Linked DNA regions of Homo sapiens: all the other regions are linked to region 1. The links are contacts of gene promoters, found by promoter capture Hi-C in human tissues and cell types (Jung and others, 2019). All regions are on one chromosome and are shown on one strand. Each heading gives the region's core, a stretch centred on a gene start or on the middle of the fragment in contact. The rest is flanking DNA. Distances are from core to core; before and after follow the strand shown. Region 1 holds the start of TMEM131 (transmembrane protein 131). Region 2 overlaps INPP4A (inositol polyphosphate-4-phosphatase type I A). Region 3 has its middle 8.5 kb from the start of INPP4A. Region 4 holds the start of ZAP70 (zeta chain of T cell receptor associated protein kinase 70).

Region 1 (3,251 bases), core at 228-2,727:
AACAATAAAAAGCAAGTGACTTTAGTCATAAAGTAGAATGTTAACTCTAAAATTACCGTGGCAAGAAATTGTTTTCTTGTACAGGCAGTTTCATGTGCAATGCTAAACTAACAAGTTTTGCGTGGTTTGTTTTTTTTTTAAACTATTCACTTAGTCAATTCTTCATGAAGGCTCTGTGACCATTCACATGTCCCTTGGCTCAAAAAGAGGTAGTGTAGATGAAATTACACTGATTTGGTCTTCAAGATTACAAAATAATTTTTGACCCTGTCCAAGTACCCGTTTTGCAGCAGTACAATACTAATGAGATTTTTAAAATAGGGGCCAGCCCTTAACTGTAAATTATAGATAAATGCTTGCAAGCTGGCAACTTCACGTTTATTTTTAAAGGCTTTCACATCAAAGATAAAGGCACCGAATCACGTATTTTAAAATAAGAAATGTAAACAGGCTTTCAACAGCTTACTAAAGAGTTAAATGGAATTGTATTTAGGTCTAATAATAAAGTTATCAATAACGCAGAGACACTAAAGGAGGAAGCTACAGGACCAAGATTTCCCCTCGAAGAAATGTCTGAACAAATTCAAAGTGAAATTTTTTAAGCTGTGTCTCGCTATTTTTACCACATTTTAAAGTAAGCTCTGTCTGCATGCAACCAACCGCAACCAAGAAAACAGAAGTGTCCTAAAATGTACCTATTCGCCGCAATAAAGCCAAAAAATATGCCCCTCCTACCTAGCGGGCCAAGTGGCAAGAACGTACGAGAAGTCAGGAAGTTTTGAAATGGCAGTGACAGGAGACGGGGGAAGGCACGGGAAGGAATCACGGAGAGCGAAGGCCACTCCGTGCGGCGGGCGCCGCGAGGTCCCGGCTCGGGACGGTACCCGACCGCCCAACTTTGCGCCGGAGCCCCGGCCGCGGCCCTTCCTCCCGGCCCAGCCCTCCCGGCCTCCGCGAGAGCGGGGTGACAGCCCCGCCGCAGGGACGCCGCCGGGGGACACCCACCTTCCTTCTCGGCCCGCGCCGCAGCCACTACGAGGGTCATCACCAGGTGCAGCGCGCCTAGGAGGCCGGCGGCCGCGCTCCGCGGGCCCCCGCTACGGGCGGCCGCAGGTTCCAGCCCGGCCCCGGCGGACGTGGAGACGGCGGCGGTGGTGGCTCCGGTTGCTCCTCCTCCCGCCCGCTTCCCCATCCCTGCCGGCCGGGGGCCGCCGCGCTCGAGGTCCGGCGCGGCCCTTCTCGGCGAGGCGGCGGCGGCGCGGAAGCCGTGGTCCGGGCTCTGGCCGCGGCGCCGGGAGCGACAACGGTTGCGAGCCCGGGGCTCGATCTCCGAGCGTGGGCCTGGGTCCGTGCGTGCGTGTGAGCGAGAGTGTCAGTCACGGTCTTTGCCTGGGCATCGCCTACAAGCAGTCGGAGCGGAGAGGCCGCGGGTCAGGCGCGGCGGGCGGCCATACTGGAAACGGGCACGGCCCGCGAGCCCTGAGCGCTGGCCTGCGAGGGGCGGGGCGCGGCTCTGGGCACCGCCCACGCTGTGCCGACACCTGGGCTGTCCGGCGGTCAGTCTGTCCGCCCCGGAGCCCCCTGGGCCCCACCTCCTCGTCCCGCTCTCGGAGGCCTGCGGCTTCACGGCCAGACAGAACCAGGACAGAACAACCCCAGCCCGTTACCGCTACCTGGCGCAGGAGAAGGAGGGAGGCAGGCCCAGGTCCAGCTGCCAGGACTTATGATGGCGGCTTCTGCTTCGCGGAGGCGGTGTCGGCAATCACGTGGAGACGGGGCGGCCTCGCCGCGCAGCCGCCGCGTTGCGTGGGCGGGGCAGGGGCGGAGTTGCGGGGCGCTAACCTCTTCTCCGGCGCCTGGGCAATCCTCCGTGCTCTGTCCTACAGTGGTAGAGCCTTCCAGGGGTGTGAGTGCGCATACAGACCGCGAGACGAGCGCGGAAGGTCCGTTCCAGTGACTCTTCCTGGTGGCACCCCCACCTCTCGACCGCTTTGACGTCGAGAATACCCCGGGCCTGACTCAGTTCTTGATGGTGCTTCCTTGAGGATGGTGGCCCGCTGAACTCATCCTTGGGTCTTCCAAATCATGGTACCCAGGAGGAGCTTGATGGAGTCCTCTTGCCTTGGCTTGTGCCCACATTGGCGCGGAACACCTCGTGTGCAGAAAGCGTCGGTGACTCTGGATGGAGAAGGCAGGGGCAAACAGACTGCTCTTTAGAATATCCAGTAGCCGGCTTCCTCTCTCGAGGAAGAATTCTTTTTTTTCTTTTCTTTATTTTTTAATTATTTATTTATTTTTGAGACAGGGTCTGGTTCTGCCGCCCAGGCTGGAGTGCAGTGGTGCGGTCTGGGACTACAGGCACCCGCCACCACGCCACGCCAATTTTTCTTTTTCTTTTAAGAAACGCTGTCTCACTATGTTGGCCGAGCAGGTCTCGAACTCCTGGGCTCAAGCAGTCCGCCTTCCTCGGCCTTCCAGAGTGCTGGGATCACAGGCGTGAGCCACTGTGCTGGGCCCGGAAAAATTCTTAAGACGTCTGTTACCTTCACGAGCCATCTCGCGCCTCTTAGATGCCCTTTTCATCTTAGGTTGAGCTTCTTGGTGCGCATGGCTGTTGTCTCCAAGACTTAATTTAAGCTCTTGGAGGGGGTCCTTCTTTACTCATCTTAGTAACTTCCTCCCAGCTTGTAGCCCAGAGACATTTTACTTTCCTTAGCTGTATTTGTTGAGTGAGTCGATATATGTGTAAGGCCAAGTCTGCCCACAGTACGTCTCAGAACAAGCTAGATAGGAAAATAAGGTTTCAGAAAGACAAAAGGAACTCCAGAATCTACTCTATGAAGTAGTCCCCTGTGTCAAGCAAGCACTTAAATTTATTCATAAATTAATATATATTTAAATATGACCTTAGCCTAATGATTTTAAAAAGCAATTTTAGGGCAGGGCGCAGTGGCTCACGCCTGTAATCCCAGCACTTTGGTAGGCCAAGGTGGGCGGATCACCTGAGGTCAGGAGTTCGAGACCAGCCTGGCCAACATGGTGAAAACCCGTCTCTACTAAAAAATATAAAAATTAGCCGGGCGTGGTAGTGCATGCCTGTAATCCCAGCTACTCCGGAGGCAGGAAAAACGCTTGAACCCGGCAGGTGGAGGTTGCAGTGAGCCAAGATAGCGCCACTGCACTATACCCTCGACAAGAGCAAAACTCCGTCTCAAAAAATTAATCATAAGCAATTTTACTTTTTTGAATAT
Region 2 (3,251 bases), core at 338-2,837, 460 kb after region 1:
CTCACGCAGGTGGTGTCAGCTGCTGTTATGGAAGCTGTCTATTATTAATTCACCCTAGCATATTGAACGCCCTTCTTTCCCTCTCTCATGTTGCTTGCATCTCTAAAGGGTGTATTCTCAAACCAATTAATTTGAATTTTCAAGAAGGATGACCTAAGTGTATAAACTCTGGAAATGTGAAGGAAGTATTTAGGCAGATGGTTGTTTCTGGGAAACAGGGCTCTACTAGGAAACAAGGATGCCCAGTTCAAGCTTCTCCCTGGATTATGGGGTGTGTCAGTTGGGATGCTTTTGGTTGCCAACAGTGACATTTATTATCTCAGAGAACTGGAGTCTCCATCAGCATGTCAGCAGTTTCATCAAGGACCTCGATTCTGCTCCTCTGTCCAGCCATCACTGCCGGTTTCATCCTAGGGGGTTAGTCTCCTCATGATTCTGAGATGGTCGTTGGGGGCAGTGGGACTGCGTGCTTCCTTGTTCCTGTCCAGCAGGAGCAGGGAAGGAGACAAAGCAGCTGATTCCCCAGCCACAGTGTCTACCAGTCCTTCCCTCTGGCCTGTGGAGCAAAGGGTCACGTGGCCTTCCCTGGACCAGCAACATGAGGCTGTGAGAGTGCTGTGTGCTGGTTGGCTTAGGCTGGTGGTCCTCCAGGTGTGGTCCTCAGACCAGTAGCATCAGCATTACCTGAGAACTTGTTAGAACTGGAGATTAGTGGATCCTACCCCACCCACTGAATCAGAAACTCTGGGATGGGGCCCAGAAAGCTGTGCTTTAAGAAGACTTCCAGGTGATTCTGATGCAAGGTCACATTGGAGAACAGCTCTTTTAGTTTAATCAAGACTCCCCTACTCCCCAGCTGGAGACAGGGCTGACTTTTCCTGAGGACCGGGGAGGAGGTTAGGTCCTAGAATAGCAAGAAGGAAGAGAGGATGGTGGGTGGCCAGCCCACAGTGTGAACTAGCCAGTGTTTACGGCCCTGGGGGCCGCTTTGCTCTCCGGAGTCCTTCCCCTGCCCCCCATTCGCCAGCTTGTCCACCCATATAAGTTTCTCAGCCCCCTTGCCTCAAGCTTCTCCAGCTCCTCCAAGCATGGCCTGTACTCTCCCTGTACAGCTCGGTGCTAAAGGAAGCAACCTCAGTAACACTCCAGCTCCAGGTCCCTCTCTGGCCTAGCAGGGATGGAGTCTACCTGGCTGGTGCTGAAGAGTCCCAAAGAGCTGTTATGACTCACCTTCTGAAGCCATTCCTGAAGTGTGTTCATTTGTGTAGGGGTTGCCTACGCTGCTACTCCTTGCTCAGCTAGGAAAAAAGAGCAGTGCAGTTAGTAGGTGCTTGAGAAATATTTAGGGAATTGGCCTGGAGACAGCCCAAGTGACTACTTTCAGTGGTGATTTTTACCTGTGTTATGTCCCCTTTTTTGCAAGTACAACTCCAACTTGATGTTTGGGTGAAATAAATAGCCACCTCCACGGTGTAATTTGTGAGATCACAATGACCCACTTTTCCGAATTTTTCCTGAAACTAAAGAGTTGAGATATTTCTGGGTTTTCAGCTTTAAAGATTCATCTTAATACATAAAAATAACGTTTAGGAGTAGTCTTGCACTGAGCTCTAACCACATTAGCACTAATTATTGCGGAAGGAAGGGCACCTGAGGAGGAAACATGCTAGAGAAGGGTCCACACAGCATGTTTCAAAATGCAGTGGTTCATGAAATCAATTTGAGGTTGTAACTGGCATTAAAAAGCTTTTTGAAATAGCAAATATCCAAGTACGTTTCCTATGGGAAGGATAAGCATTTTTTGGTAAAACATCTAGTTATTCACATGTAGTGTATTTGGGGTGTTGTTATGGTGTGACTGTTTCTTAGAGTGGATTTTGGTAAAGATGTGTCAAACCCTAGGGCTGAGTGCAGGGGGTCCTAACCTGTAGGAAGGTGGGGCCTACGCTGGATGTGTATACACTTGGGGTCTTTTCCTGGGCGTGCGACCTGTGACTTTTGTCAGAACCTGGTGGTCTGTGACTCGCCATAGATCAAGAACCAATGACCTAAAACCAGAGGAGACTTTCAGTGGTGAGGGCCAGTGGGAGTGGAGCTGGGGGCGTGAGGAGCAGGCACAAAGTCCTGAGCCTGGTCCTGCTCTGGCGTATTGTTCGTGGTAGTAAGCCATCTGAGCCAAATCCTCCTGATGAGGAGTCCTCTGCACAGCCACACTGACAGACAGGAGAGACAGTGGCAGGCAGTGTGTTGATCACCTGAGGTCGGGGGTTCAAGACCATCCTGGCCAACGTAGTGAAAACCCGTCTCTACTAAAAATACAAAAATTAGCTGGGTGTGGTGGTGCACACCTGTAATCCCAGCTACTTGGGAGGCTGAGGCAGGAGAATCGCTTGAACCCAGGAGGTGGAGGTTGCAGTGAGCCGAGATCACATCACTGCACTCCAGCCTGGGTGACAGGGCAAAACTCCCTCTCAAAAAAAAATTTAACTCTGGATGCCAGATGGGTCCTTTACCTAACAGGTGGATCAGCATATTTCTACATAAGAGAGAGAGAGAGAGTCTCCTTGTTTGGGGCTGGCCCCAGTGAAAGCATTGCTGCTTTTGACTCCCCGCTGGAATCCTCTGTGCCTTAACACTGTCAGGACAGTTCCCAAGGCTGGCTTAGAGTCAGCTATGATCCCCATTATTTAATGCAGGCGCTAGTCTGGTTTGTATCACAAAGCTTATGTAGTAGTGGCTTTGGCATGTCTGTGTTTGTTTTTTGGGGGTAGGGGCAAGTTGGATTGTAGTGCTGGATGTGAACCCAAGTCAGCTTTCTCATCTGTAAAATGGGGAAGGTGCTAGGCTCACAGGAGGGTGGTGGGGATTGATAATATACATAGGAGAGGGCTGTGAACTGCAGTGCACTGGACCGGTGCAAACATGAATGTTTCGACCCCTGCTCCACTTGACAGTCTTGGTAACTGTTTTCCCCACAGTACTCTTATTTTTCACATGTGCTCAAAGGGCTGGAGTACACCCTATTGTTGACTCCTGCTCAGGGTACCTTCCAGGGGAAATATCACAGAAGAGGGAGGTGCTGAGAGGCAGGGACATCCAGCGAAGTTGAGAGGAGAAGGATGTGGGCGGGGGGTGGGAGGAGGAAGTGGAGGGCTTGCACTCTGTAAACTCTTAGTCAGCTGGTCACTGACCCAACTGAGCCTTTTACTGACACTGTTTTTTTAAAGAATGGAAGGACTAAGGATTGTATG
Region 3 (3,251 bases), core at 347-2,846, 440 kb after region 1:
AAGCTTCTTGTTTCATGGATAAAGGTCATGCTAGAATCCATGGCATAAATGAAGTCTAGGGAATTCAAGGGCTACTGACAGCAGGGGAGATAGGGATATTCCCACCCCCAACCCCCAACTCCCACTAACATGGATGAAAGCCATTTTGACACCCATGCATGGCACTCTGTGGCAGTTGCTGGGACTCAGGGATACAAGGATGGAGGAAAGAAAAAGGAACACCTAACTTTTCCTCCCTCACATACACAAGGGATTTGCTAGGAAGAGAAAGGAACCAGGGTCACCTGCTACCCTCTTTCTGGATGAGTAGCCATTCCTCTGCAGTGCTTCCTGAACCCCTGAGACTTCTCTGAAAAAATGCCTCCTTTTTCCTCCTTTGTCCTGTTCACTGATAGTTAATTGTATCTCTGTACTATGGGACGCTCCCTTCAGATGCATCCTCCAAACTGGGAAGAGTTAATTTCCCAAACCTTAGACTGGTTGGCTTAGGATTGGGCTCAGGGGAAGGGAACCCAGAAGTCTAATATGGGGCAAAAGAGTATAAGTTTTTTTAGCAGTCAGACTTTTGGTGTCTCCTCCCTGCGCAAACTGGTAAAAGGCCTCAGGATTTTTGAGCTGCCCTTACCCCCGCTGTTGCAGGAAGTCAAGGACCCCGAATGGAGGGACCGGCTGAAGCCATGGCAGAAGAACATAAATTGTGAAGATTTCATGGACATTTATCACTTTCCCAATCAATACTCTTGTGATTTCCTATGCCTGTCTTTACTTTAATCTCTGAATCCCGTCATCTTCATAAGCTGATGATGAATGTCGCCTCAAGACCCTGTGATGATTGCGTTAACTGCACAAATTATTTGTAGAGCATGTGTGTTTAAAAAATATGAAATCTGGGCACCTTGAAAAAAGAACAGGATAACAGTGATGTTCAGGGAACAAGGGAGATAATCTTAAAGTCTGGCTGCCTGTGGGCTGGGCAGGACAGAGCCATATTTCTCTTATTACTGAAAATGGGTAAGAGAAATATCGCTGAATTCTTTCCCCAGTAAGGAATATTAATAATTAACAGCCCTGGGAAAAGAATGCATTCCCAGGGCGGGGCCTCTACAATGGCTGCCCTAGGAGTGTCTGCCTTATGCAGATGCAGATAGGGATGAAACACACCCTAGTCTCCTGCAGCATGCCCAGGCTTGCTAGGATTAGGAAATTCCAGCCTGGCAAATTCCAGTCAGACCGGTTTTCTGCTCTTGAACCCTGAAAATGCATGCACAGTGGGACATGGAAGTTCATTAGTGATTCTAGTTTCACCCTGACCTTCTGCCTTGTGATCTTTTGTCACCCTTGAAGCATGTGATCTCTGTGACCCACACCCTATTCGTACACACCCTCCCTTTTGAAAATTGCTAATAAAAACTTGCTGGTTTTACGGCTCAGGGGGCATCACGGAACCTGCCAACATGTGATGTCTCCCCCGGACACCCAGCTTTAAAATTTCTCTCTTTTGTACTCTTTCCCTTTATTTCTCAGACCGGCCGACACTTATGGAAAATAGAAAAGGACCCTCGTTGAATTATCGGAGGCAGATTCCCCCAATACCCACCCTTATTTCATTTTGATACACATTTTCTTTCTTTTCTTCTTCTTTTTAATTTTTTTTCTGAGACAGAAGCTTGTTCTGTTGCCCAGGCTGGAGTGCAGCGGTGTGATCTCGGCTCACTGCAACCTCTGCCTCCTGGGTTCAAGAGATTCTCCTGCCTCAGCCTCCTGAGTAGCTGGGATTATAAGCACCCACCACCATACCTGGCTAATTTTTGTATTTTTAGTAGAGACAGGGTTTCACCATGTTGGCCAGGCTGGTCTTGAACTCCTGGCCTCAAGTGATCCGCCCACTTTGGCCTCCCAAAGTGCTGAGATTACAGGCATGAGCCACCGCACCTGGCTGATATATGTTTTCTAATAACCCAGTTTGTCTTTTCTTGCCTTCAGGCCGTGAAACTCCAAACGGTCATGCAACTGGAGCCTTGGACCACAGCCCCTTCTGCCAGGGACCCTTAGATAGGCCTCTGAGGGAGCTCTGACTGCCGTTTTCCTCAAACAGTGCCTCCTGTCAGCATGAAGCAGTTAAGATCGGCCTTTGTCCTGATCCTTATTCTTATTCTAACAGCAGTTAGATGTACTTCTTTAGAGGGGGAAATGATAGATGCAGGAGGCAGATAAGGGGGAAGGTCCCCAGAGAACCTCCCATGGGCCTGCACACTGGGAGAACAGGGTGGAGCCAGGGAAAGTTTGTGCCGTTTGCAGTGGGGAGGAGCCTGGCCTCTCCTTTCCTGTGTAGTGGCCTGGGATTCAATCTGTGAGTCCTGTTAGCAGGACTGCGTCTTGCTTTGCTGAGTTTTTTTTTTTTTTCCTTTTTTGCCCAATAATATCCTGCTCTACTCACCCTTCAGTGTGTCGTCTGTGTGCCTAAATTTTCCTGGTCTTGTGACAAGAACCAGAGTTTAGGGGAACTAAGGAGCAATGCTCTGCAACAGTATGTTGAGTTTTCACATTAATTTTTCTCAAAATATTTTCTAATTTCCCTTCTGAGTTCTTCTTTGACCCTTTGGTTACCGAGAACTGTGTTGTTTAATTTCCATTTACTTGTAAATTTCCCAAATTTCCTTCTGTTGTTGATTTCTGTTTTAATTCCATTGTGCTCAGAGAACATAATTTGTATGACTTCAATTCTTTTTTATTTATTTAGGCTTTTAAAAGTCCTACCATATAATCTATCCTAGAGGATATTTCATGTACAGTTGAACATGAGGTATGTTCTGTTATTGTTGGGTGGAATATTCTACAACTTTGTTAAATCTAGTTGGCTTATGGTATTGTTAATGTTTTATATATCCTTTTAGATTTACTTCATTATTTTATCCATTACTTAAAGTGGAGTACTGCAATAATCAATTACTACTATTACAATGTTCACTTCTCACTTCAATTCTGTTTTTGCTACATGTATTCTCGGGTTCTATTGTGGATGTATATATGTCTATAATTACTATCTCTTCCTCATAGTTTAAACTTGTTACAATTATAAAATGTCTCTGTTTGTCAGTAGTATTTTTGTTTTGTTTTAAGTTTGTTTTGTATTATATTAGTATAACTTCTTCAGTATTCTGTTGGTTATTGTTTCTGTGGTATACCTTTGTTCATCATTTTACCTTAAACCTATTTATACCTTAAAATTTACATTCATCTCTGTACACAAT
Region 4 (3,251 bases), core at 340-2,839, 280 kb before region 1:
GAGACGAATTCAGGGGTCCTTTATTAGCTGGCGACTGAGAGACAGCTAGTGCTCAAAATTCTCTCAGCCCCAAAGAAGGGGCTTGATTTTCTTTTATACTTTGGTTTAGAAAGGACAGGTGGGGGTCTAAAACAATCTTACAGAAGTAAAGCAGGCAAAAAGTTAAAAGGATAAATGGTTACGGGAAAGCAAACAGTTCCAGGTGCAGGGGCTTAAAATCTATCACAAGGTGATAGACACGGGGCTTTGGGCGTTATCAACCGGACACAAACGCCGGGGCTCTGGGTGCTATTAACCGGGCGAATTCCTGGGAACTGCGGATATAGCTTGCCACAGTATCTTATCAGTTAATTGCATTCTTGGATGTGCTGGGAGTCAGCTTGCACAAATTAAGTCCTTGAGGAAGCGGGGTGGGTAAGGGGCTGCAAATGAAAGAGCCAAGATGGAGTCTGTCTGGCTCTCTTAGCTAAGGGAGAGTCAATTCAGGTTAAAACAAGGTAGGGTATCACAAGCCCACTTAACAAGGGCAGCAGGACCCCAAGAAGAAAAGCTTTAGGAGTCTCCACAGTGGGCCCAGGGCAGTTCCACACAGGTCTCTGAGGCCCCACAGACAGGAGAGCTGTGACGACTCCCTTAGTGCCCAAGAAAGCAAGGAGGTGGTGGGCAAGGGGCTCCCAGAGGCCTTGGGGCACTAGAGGGGAGATGGAGCCGAGGGAGTGGCTCTGCAGGCCCCTCTCTGAGAGAGTGCATGAGGTGTGGCCCCAGGCCCAAGGGTAGGGGGTGCACAGGGTGAGGGAAGGGAGGAGAGGAAGAGGAGGAGGAGGTGGTGGCCACAGCGGGATGGCACTCAGCCAGGTTCAGCTTCGTGGGAAAGGTCCCAGGTGGGCCGGGCTAGCACTGGGGATGCCCTGGCTCTGTGTCTCGGTTGGGTGGCTGACTCCTCCTGGAACGCATCCCTGACATCCTCCAGGCTGGCTTGGGGATACTCTGGGGACACACAGTGCCCAGGCTTCCGGCCTCCCAGCCCTGGCTCCCTGTGGACTCAGCTGCCCCCAACAAGCCTGCGAGCCACTGGAGAGCAAGGGCAGGCTGTCCTTGCCATCCAGATGCCTGGCACAGAAGGGGTTCTCACCTTCGGGGTATGGGCTGACTCAGTGGGTTTCTCCTCCCTCCAGCTCTAACCTGCCTGTGGAATAAACAAATCACTCCTCTGGGTTGTCTAGCTGGTGCAGGCCCCAGGGCGACGCCCCTTTGAGGGGAAAATGGGGGCATTCCAGTTTCCATGAGCCCTGGGACTCCCCTCCTTCCCACCACTGCTGCCTACCCTCCGGTTCCAGGTATGCAGGCTTCCTCCCTTCTGACGGTTCCTGCTGCTGGAGTCGTCCTTCCTGAAACCCTGCCTTTGCTTAGCCTCATTCCCATCTCTCAGTCCCATCCTGCAGCTGGGCAGGCAGTGCTGGGCCCCGGAAATGCCCTCTGCCTCCCTGGAGCACGTGGCCTGTGATTTTCCTTGAGCACAGCACTTTGTGACTTTGATGTAAACATCAAACACAGCCCCCTTTCCTGTCTTCGCATCCAGGAAATAGGTTAGTTTCAGACAAGCCTGCTTGCCGGAGCTCAGCAGACACCAGGCCTTCCGGGCAGGCCTGGCCCACCGTGGGCCTCAGAGCTGCTGCTGGGGCATTCAGGTAAGCGGCTGTCCTCGGGCCTTCTGCCTGTGTCCTGCCACCAGGGCCACCCCAGGGGGCTCTGGGAGACCTGGCAGAGGATGAACCCCCCCCATCCATGAGTGAGAAACCCTGGCGGGGTGTGACATCCTCCCCCGGGGTGTGTGCGGAGAGTGTGAGCGGCAGGGCCTCCCTCTCAGGCTGGGGGCTTGGGCTGCAGGGAAATCCAAACCGGCTTTGTAAGCCCCGATTCCTCACCCAGAACCGGCTCTCCATTGGCATTGGGACCAGAGACCCCGCAAGTGGCCTGTTTGCCTGGACATCCACCTGTACGTCCCCAGGTAAGTGGTGCCTGGGTGGAGTGGCACCTGGCCACCGTCTCCATGGTGGGCTGTGTCTGGAGGAGGAAGACAGAATATTAACTGGGAGTCAGGAGGTTGCTGGGAGGACCAGGAGAGCTGGAGGACTGGGCTGGGTGGTGACTGGCTGGAGATGGAGGCAGACGGGGCTTGTGGCCACGCTGAGGGAAGCAGCTCCCCCTCCAGAGGCTTGGCCGAGCGGGGCTGTTCAGGGGACACGGTGAGGCCTGCTCAGTCCCTGGGCTCCTGCTGGGCCCTGTTTGGCTGCATCCTTGGCTCTCGGAGGCAGAGAAACCTCCAGAGAAAGCGCATGTGCACTCTGTGAAGATGAGGGGGCTGCTCACCAGGGCCGTGAGCTCCATCAGCAGAATGCTGTGATTCCTGTGAGGAGTCCAGGGCAGGCTTGAGCCACTTGTAGGCGAGCTCAGGTTAGAGGAAGACCTGGAGAGAGAAAGAGCAAAACACCGAGTTCTCCTCAACTGCTGTGTGTTCTCGGCAAGTTGCTTGGCCTCTCTGACCTCAGTTTGTGCATCTGTTAAATGCACATGCAGATATGGGCACCTGGCAGGCGCCTGGTTCCTGACTGTTGGCGAGAGGCTGGGAAATGTGTCCCAGGTAGGAAGCATCCCCGACAGGAAGGAACAGGAGTTCATGAGGTGAGCAGCTCGAGATGATTCATTACTCTCGTCTTGGTTGGAACAGTAGGCAGACAGGAGGTGTTTAATAATGCCTTGCTGAGAGATCAGGGTCAGGGACTCCTAAGGTGCCACCTGTGAAGCTGCCTCCTGCTGAATCCAGAGCTTCCTTTTCCTCTTCACACCTGCCCTCCATCCTCAGCCCCACTGCCCTGGCAGTGTTGCGGGGGTGGTGTTGATGTGCACACTCTGGAGCCTGGGGGCCTGGCTTCACATTCTGGCTCTGCCACTCACCAGCTGTGTGACTGGACCAGTCACCGCATCTCTCTGTGCTTCCCTCCCAGGGCTCTCGGGAGGATAAAGAGAGTGACTGTATCCACACTGCCCGGCACATACAGGTGCTGCAGAAAGGTCTCACTAAAACCCTCATTATCCTCACTAGCTCTGGGTGGCCTCGGGCTCTGGACTCCACAGTTCCTGTATGCTCTCCGGGGCTGCAGCACCCAGACCACCCCGTGCTGACCACTCCCTGCCCCACCCCAAGGTACAGGGTTAAGGCAGCCATTCTCATCAGAGCCAATTTTACCTCC

What was found. The method cuts DNA at HindIII sites, captures the fragments that hold promoters and counts their contacts. A contact is called where the count stands out against the background at its distance.
Region 2: a contact is called between a fragment that was not itself captured here and the fragment with the promoter of TMEM131 in region 1, in 1 of the 25 tissues and cell types used here (dorsolateral prefrontal cortex).
Region 3: a fragment that was not itself captured here is called in contact with the fragment with the promoter of TMEM131 in region 1 in 2 of the 25 tissues and cell types used here (dorsolateral prefrontal cortex and pancreas).
Region 4: a contact is called between the fragment with the promoter of ZAP70 here and the fragment with the promoter of TMEM131 in region 1, in 1 of the 25 tissues and cell types used here (adrenal gland).

The regions. Positions count from the first base shown.
Region 1 is chr2:97,994,471-97,997,721 of GRCh38, forward strand. TMEM131 (transmembrane protein 131) reads right to left here and starts at 1,478. Exons shown (of 41, transcript NM_015348.2): 1 at 1,006-1,478. The coding sequence starts at 1,192. It overlaps LOC124905591 (a long non-coding RNA gene), which reads left to right and starts at 3,173. Exons shown (of 2, transcript XR_007087148.1): 1 at 3,173-3,251. RefSeq lists silencers at 768-1,327, 1,438-1,687 and enhancers at 1,224-1,737, 1,908-2,187. The HindIII fragment of the contact is 13,320 bases long and covers 1-3,251 here.
Region 2 is chr2:98,451,634-98,454,884 of GRCh38, forward strand. The region is part of intron 1 of INPP4A (inositol polyphosphate-4-phosphatase type I A); the gene reads left to right. Among named protein-coding and RNA genes, the nearest start is that of INPP4A, 8.4 kb to the left of the region's middle. The HindIII fragment of the contact is 4,237 bases long and covers 1-3,251 here.
Region 3 is chr2:98,434,695-98,437,945 of GRCh38, forward strand. No RefSeq gene overlaps it. Among named protein-coding and RNA genes, the nearest start is that of INPP4A, 8.5 kb to the right of the region's middle. RefSeq lists enhancers at 675-1,874, 916-1,660, 1,661-2,404. The HindIII fragment of the contact is 5,831 bases long and covers 1-3,251 here.
Region 4 is chr2:97,711,987-97,715,237 of GRCh38, forward strand. ZAP70 (zeta chain of T cell receptor associated protein kinase 70) reads left to right here and starts at 1,590. Exons shown (of 14, transcript NM_001079.4): 1 at 1,590-1,688; 2 at 1,930-2,008. RefSeq lists an enhancer at 1,398-2,371. The HindIII fragment of the contact is 22,881 bases long and covers 1-3,251 here.